Regions from separate parts of the Homo sapiens genome. Here region 1 is linked to region 2. Evidence: promoter capture Hi-C in 16 types of primary human blood cells and fetal thymus (Javierre and others, 2016). All regions are on one chromosome and are shown on one strand. Each heading gives the region's core, a stretch centred on a gene start or on the middle of the fragment in contact. The rest is flanking DNA. Distances are from core to core; before and after follow the strand shown.

Region 1 (3,960 bases), core at 392-2,891, 190 kb after region 2:
TGTGACCAGTAATGTACTAAGCTCTTTATCATAACTCATTTAATTCTCACAGCAAACTTACGAGTTAGGCCTTACTCTCATTCCCATTTTACAAGTGAGAACATGAAAGCACAGAGAGGATAAGAAAAATTCTCCAGGTCACACGGCATTTGGATTCAGGCAGTTGAGACCAGAGTCTCTGTTCCTGTCCACAATGTTATATGGCCCATGACAAACCACCCACCCTTCACATCTTGGATTATGGCCCATGATAAACCACCAACCCTGCACATCCTCAGGAATTCATAGGAAGGAGTCAAATTCAGTACCTTGAGCTTTGACAGGTAACATTAAGAACAGGTCTCCACCCCCTACCCCCACCACCCCCCATTAGTTTTGGTTTCAGGGAGAATTAAGGGAAGAGATTTGTGGACTCGGATAAGCCCTTACAATCCTCCTGTTCAGTTGTGTGTATGAGGTAACCAACTCATCACAGTGTGACTGGAGCTTTCTCAGTTTTGGTATTAAAAGTTCATTGTGCTGGGCAACATCTCAGTTCCTGGCAACCTCTTAGTCCTGGACAAACTGGGAAGGTTGCTCACTCTAGTGTGAGGCTTCTTTGAATGAGTCGGAAGTATTCTTGCCACACCCAGGCCAGCCAGGTGGACCCGAGGAGGGACGAGAAACGTCATTACCCTGCAATAGTTTCCCTACCCAGCCCTATGCCCCACTTTCTGTGCGTGTGTCCAACTTTCTCCCTGCTCTTCTTAGAGCAGGTGGTCTCTGATCCCCTGGAAGGGAAAAGACCTTCCCATAAACTCACTGGTCAAAGAGGCTCAGGTTATAGCTGGGGTGAGATACATATCCATCTCAGCAAGTCAAATCTCATTATTTTCTTTGGTGGAGATGAGAGAAGGTGAGGATACGGGTTAGGCTGGAGATTATTTAACTGATAAACTGTGATTATTCTTCAGGAATCCATAGCCAGGGATAGACTCAATTTAATTTATTAAAAATATTTGTTAGATGAATATCAACATATTTGCACGTTTCCCCTCTGCCCCTTTTATAATCATGCCAAAATGAGTCACTCAATTACCCCAATTCCTTAGCTTATACTCAATGGGAAACATGATTTTAAAAGGTTAATGCTATTTTAGATGGCTCCCTTTTATTGCTCTATTTATGTTAAGCCCCAGAGTGATTTAGGTGCCTATGCAATCATAAAAAATCCAGGAATATCATTAAGTAATTGTGATGTCAACATACTGCTGAGGTTTGAGTAGCTACATCCTAGCCTATGGTATACATCCATTTTATGGATTCTCAACTCTCCCTTTGGCCTTCATCTTTGATCTAGTGCTAGAAAATTATTATGTCATTAACCCAAATGTGAGCCTCAAGTAAAATACTTCATTATTCTTTAATTCAATTTAAAAACATAGACACATTTTTCTTAATGAAGTAATTACTTCTACGTTTCGTCAAACCATTGAAGTTTATCAAAAACGCATTGTGAAAAAAGTTATTAAGTTTTTCAATGACTTATATAATGGAATGGCATATTTTCTAAGTTAATGAAGTGAACACTAACAATATGATCCTGAAGAAGAACCCAGTTGAGAAGGAGGAAAATAATAGCGTATGCCACAGTGGTCTTGGCTTGTTTCTCTCCCCACAGCTGAATATTTTTATTGAACATTTGAGAGAAGTCGTAACTGGCCTGATTACCAATTTGGGAATGACATATAGCTGGGAAGGATGGTTAATGAGAAGTCAGTATCCAGATTCAAAATGGTCTTAATAAGCTCATTGGCAGGCAGCTAAAATCTACATAATATAATTTAACAAGGGTTAATTTTTGCCTTTAGTCAGACAAAAAACAAAACAAAATAATTGCATAAGTATAAACTAGTAATTTATTTGAAAAAGACAAACTGGAATTAATTGACTGCAAAGGCAATACAAGCCAATTGTGACTGCCTCATTGCAGCAAATAATCCAATGTGGCATTAAGTTGCATTGAGGGGAAAAATGTGGCCAGCACAAGGGAGATGATAGATCTGTTGAATTTTTACCAGATCAGATGGCATTTAGAGATTTTTCTGCTAGTCTAGATGCTATATTTTTAGAAGAATATTGATGAACTAAAACATATCCAGAAGAGAGTGAGTGTTGAGGGTTTTGGAAACCATCACTTGATGGAACTGAGACTATTCTACTAAAAAATAGAAGGTTTTGGGGGGACTTGAGAACTGTTCTCAAATACTGAAATGTGTTCAGAACTCAGAGTTGACTTAGGGAGAGGAAGCCTTGTTAGTTCCCCTACAATCACCCCTACAATTTCCCTTTTCCTTGAAGACTATGCCAGAAATGGAAGAATTATTAAATCTATATATAAGTATCAAATAATTTTTCATATTATCTTGCAGGATCTCCTTCCTATGCTTCCAGTTACCTCCTGTGACAAATAATAGTTTCTGCAGCACAGCAATCTTCCCTGCCTCAAGTCTTTAGAAACAATCTCATTTATCTAATGAGATTCATATTTTCTGAATCCAGAATGAAGGTGTAAAGCCCTCTAAAATGATTTTACTCAGTCAGGAGGATCACCTGAGCCCCAGTTTGAGACAAGCCAGGGCAACATAGTGAGACCCCATCTGTACAATAAAATAAAAACTAGCCAGGCGTGGTGGTGCATGCCTATAGTCTCAGCTACCTGGGAGTGTGGGAAAAGGGGCTGAGGTGTGAGGATCGCTTGAGCTAGGAGGTTAAGGCTGCAGTGAGCCGTGATCACACATGATCACTGTACTCCAGCCTGGGAGACAAGGCAAGACCTTCTCTCTAAATAAGTAAATACATGATTCCACTCCCATTGATGAACTAAAATGTGCGCACAAATCTGTTCTCTTGCTATCTTAACTTTTATAATGTTTTTCTGCTTCTTGACTTGCTTATTCTATCAGAGACCACGCCTCAATCATCCTGGCTCAAAACCACATTTACCTTTAACACTTCCTCCCCATCATCCCTTATATCTCAGGAAGTTCCAGGACCTGAAATGTAACCAGATTTTGTACATTGCACAAAGGACTGAACCAACCCAGGAGTATTCACTGGAAACCTGTGGTTTCTGTAATACATGGCTGTGGTGTACATGTTACAAAGCCTCCTGTTAAGTGCAAATCAGAAACTCTGCACATGGGAAGAAAGGGAAAATTTAGGGAACAACTCCTTCCTTCTTACTCTACATCAGAATGTGCAACCCTGACATCTATAAAAGTTTCAACCTGGAAAGAGATTAAAAGATATTTAAGGGAAGTCAAATTTACAAAGATGTGAGTGTATCTCACGAGTTGGGTGTAGTTGCTGAGAGGCAGGAGGATGACCCAGTTGAACCCTAGAGTCTTCCTCTGTCTGAGAGAGGTTACTATGAGCCTTGTAAAGCCGTGGTGTAGAAAACAGCTGCAGATTTGACAGGAAATTGCAGGAGATGGGAATGAAGCATGAGGCAAAATGTCTTGTTTTGCTCTTCTCAGCCTCCTGGGTCTCCAGGGCTCTGGGCCCAAATTTGGAGACTGAGAAATGCAGGGGAATGTTATGCTGTGTCTGCAGCTCCATTTCTTGAGATTGAGGTTTAGATAATCAGTTTCTTTTTTTTGAGACGGAGTCTCGCTCTGTTGCCCAGGCTGGAGTGCAGTGGCGTGATCTCAGCTCACTGCAAGCTCCGCCTCCCGGGTTCACGCCATTCTCCTGCCTCAGCCTCCCCAGAAGCTGGGACTACAGGCACCCGCCATCACACCCGGCTAATTTTTTGTGTTTTTAGTAGAGACAGGGTTTCACCGTATTAGCCAGGATGGTCTCGATCTCCTGACCTCATGATCCGCCCGCCTCGGCCTCCCAAAGTGCTGGAATTACAGGCGTGAGCCACCGCGCCTGGCCTAGATAATCAGTTTCTAACATTTATATCATGAAAACCTT
Region 2 (3,427 bases), core at 217-2,716:
CCCAAAACTCCATAATTAATGGTAATATTTTCTAGAACTCCTTTGAATTTCACTAGAGGTTATATATTGTAGCTTTTTTCCCACTCTAACATTTATAGACAATACTGACAAATGTTTGAAATAATAGATTGGAATTAACCCTCATATTAATTTTAGCTTCTACCAAAGTGTGCATAGAGCAAAGAATCAAAGGACAACATGTTAACTAATAAAGCAAATAATTGGTACCTATGACTTAGCAAGTTACCTTTATTAGCACTGGGTGTTGGATCTTGAAACTGATAGTTTAAAAAGTGTGATTCTTTTGAAATGGGACCAAAGGAGCCTAGGATAAGCCCAGCACCATAGGGCTCCCAATTGAGGGGTGTGGACTGGATGGCTGAAGAGGTAATATCAATACAGTGTGCCATGTGCTGTCAGTACCTAGATGATGGATAACACGATACCAGAAATGGTGGCCACAGTCAGGAGACTCGGCCTTCCCCCAGGTGAAACAAAGAAAAGGATAACAGCTGCTCTCTTACATTCAGAAGTGTGTGAGATACCAACATCCACGAGAATATTCCAGTTCTCCTTCTGAAGCAGAATACTACCTATTCTACCACCCACATCCTGACAAGGCCTTTGGAAATCAACTCAAAAATTTTTAGCATTATTTTTTGGGGGAAGGGTGATTAAAAAAAATCTCAGGGATAATCCGATTCAAAACTCTTGATTTTTAAATTAGGAAAATGCATCTTTTGATACATTTCAAGGAGTTCAAAAGTCCCTCCAAGACCATCCATGGACCCAACACCAATGACTCTGGGTTTTAAATCCTTTTAGTTTGGATTTCCTTAATTGCATTCATAAGCCCATATTAAAATTAAAATATAAAAAATTAAAATCTTTGCCCCATATTAAAATCACCCTGAAAACTTAAAAAACAAACAAACAACAACAACAACAAACCTCAATGCCCAGACCAGATCCTGTCCTGTTCCAATTAAATCAGAGTCTCTAGAGGTGGGACCCAAGAATCAATATATATGTTTTGAACTCTCCAGGTGATTCCACAGGGCAGCAAAGTTTGAGAAGCAACACACAGGTCTCCTTTTTCGTCACGCAGTTGATCTAAGTGCTCTGTGGTCTATTCACCATCGCTCTCTGATTTAATCATCGTGTCCGAAACAATGGAAAGGCGTATGTAGCTGAAATAATTTAGTTGGAATTATCTCGGAAAAAATAAGTAAAGTTAGATCAGGAGTGAGATGCTTTCTCAGCGCTTTCCCTGGGTCAACAGGCGCGTGCAATTTCCTCAGCGAACGCCAAGGGGCACCCTCTCCCTCCCCGCTCTACCTGGAACGCCTTCGCCTTTCCAACCGCACAAAGAGCCCGGCCTCCTCCCGGGTGACATCACAAAGGGCCGGTCCCCCGCCCCTTCGGCGCCACCACGTGTGTCCCTGCGCCCGGTGGCCACCGACTCAGTCCCTCGCCGACCAGTCTGGGCAGCGGAGGAGGGTGGTTGGCAGTGGCTGGAAGCTTCGCTATGGGAAGTCGTTCCTTTGCTCTCTCGCGCCCAGTCCTCCTCCCTGGTTCTCCTCAGCCGCTGTCGGAGGAGAGCACCCGGAGACGCGGGCTGCAGTCGCGGCGGCTTCTCCCCGCCTGGGCGGCCGCGCCGCTGGGCAGGTGCTGAGCGCCCCTAGAGCCTCCCTTGCCGCCTCCCTCCTCTGCCCGGCCGCAGCAGTGCACATGGGGTGTTGGAGGTAGATGGGCTCCCGGCCCGGGAGGCGGCGGTGGATGCGGCGCTGGGCAGAAGCAGCCGCCGATTCCAGCTGCCCCGCGCGCCCCGGGCGCCCCTGCGAGTCCCCGGTTCAGCCATGGGGACCTCTCCGAGCAGCAGCACCGCCCTCGCCTCCTGCAGCCGCATCGCCCGCCGAGCCACAGCCACGATGATCGCGGGCTCCCTTCTCCTGGTGAGCGCTTGCGTGGACCGGGGGTGGCGGCGGCGCCGGAGCAGAAGGAACCGCTCTCCGGGAGCCGGGCGGGTCACCGGGCCGGGGCTTAGGGAGGCGCGGGGCCCGGCCGACTGGGTTACGGGCACTGAGGGGTTTCCAAGGGAAGGCAACACACCAGAGGGCCTCGACTAGGTTATTTGGGGGAATCTCAGGGCTCAGCCGGGGCTGGGGAATGAAGACGAATTGTTTTCCTTGCAGTCTGGCTTTGCTGGAGGAGACGCTAGAGGTAGCCGCCCAGCTTCTGCGCATTTGAGGGCTTTTCCCCCTACTCGGCCTACCTCGCGCTCCCCACGCCCGCAGCCACAGCCCCCCACCCATCGGCCACTGCCCCTCTGCGTGGTGTGGGGCCTCGCCGCGGTGTGGGGCTCCCACGGCCGGCCGAGGCCGGCGCTTTGTTGCAGCTGCAATGTCATGTCGGGATGCTACCGCAGTGGAAGACAGTGGTACCGGTGCGCGCCGGACACCGGAGACCTCCGGGTGCTGTCGCGCGGTGCATTCCCGAGCAGGGCGCAAGCCGCCCCCTCCTCAATCCCTTTACCCTCTCTCTTCCCTCTTGGCTCGGGTGGGGTCTCAGGTTCTGTATGCCGAAATATCACCCTTAGACCCACTCTCCGGCGCCTCCAAAGCGCCGGCTTCCAGCCAGCCAGCGCGCCGGCACTGGAATGGGGGGAGGGGGAAGGAGATGTGTGTGAAGGAAGATGAATTTTCTACAGTCTTTCCGATCCCTCGTTTACCTGTGGCTAGGCAGGTGACCCTGCAGGGTGGTGCAGTCTCCCTCATCGTCTAAGCTGCATCCACATCTCGGGTCAATCATCTTGACCAAAAACTTACCCTCAACTTCCCCCAAATTCCCTCCCTTTATTTCCAAATATTGGGGTGAAGGGGCAAGTTAGGTGGAAGAAAATTTGAGATCAAACCCTTGAGCTTCCCTTGCCTATCTTTTATCACTGCAGGAGGGATGGAAATTCTTAGCTAAAAACCGAACAAAAAAACCCCCAAGAAACAAGAGCTTGTTTTCACGACAGGGCTGTGTAAGGGAAAAGCAGGCTTGCTGTCTCCTTCCCCAAAAGGGCTTAACGCCTGGCCAGCCAAGAACTGCTTAGATCTCAGGACATTGCAGTTGCTATGGCCTGGGAATTCATCCTACAGACACTCTGGTTCCTTGTGTGTGTGTTTTAAGAGGAAGAGAGAGACTAAATAAAAGTTTGTTACTGTTAGCATTTATAATGAGGCAAGTCCCAGTCTCCCTTCAGAAACTCTTTTCTGCCCACTTATTAATGGCATGGCCAAGGTTTATATCTTTGAAACAAGTGAAACAAGTGTGGTGGATGGTAAGCAGTAGTCGGGGAGTCTCTTGGGACAATGAACCTGGATTGACAGTCTTGGTGTGGAGAGAAACACATCTAGGTCCATGGGAACACTGATCCTAG

The links. Contacts are between HindIII fragments. The CHiCAGO score rates a contact against its expected background, and 5 or more counts as called.
Region 1: a contact is called between a fragment that was not itself captured here and the fragment with the promoter of TNFRSF21 in region 2, in 2 of 17 cell types (monocytes and megakaryocytes). The highest score is 8.2, in monocytes.

Annotation. Positions count from the first base shown.
Region 1 is chr6:47,113,418-47,117,377 of GRCh38, reverse strand. No RefSeq gene overlaps it. Among named protein-coding and RNA genes, the nearest start is that of ADGRF1, 73 kb to the right of the region's middle. The HindIII fragment of the contact is 6,107 bases long and covers 1-3,960 here.
Region 2 is chr6:47,307,944-47,311,370 of GRCh38, reverse strand. TNFRSF21 (TNF receptor superfamily member 21) reads left to right here and starts at 1,466. Exons shown (of 6, transcript NM_014452.5): 1 at 1,466-1,955. The coding sequence starts at 1,860. RefSeq lists enhancers at 1,204-1,498, 1,450-1,629, 1,793-2,515 and a silencer at 1,770-1,999. The HindIII fragment of the contact is 9,028 bases long and covers 1-1,523 here.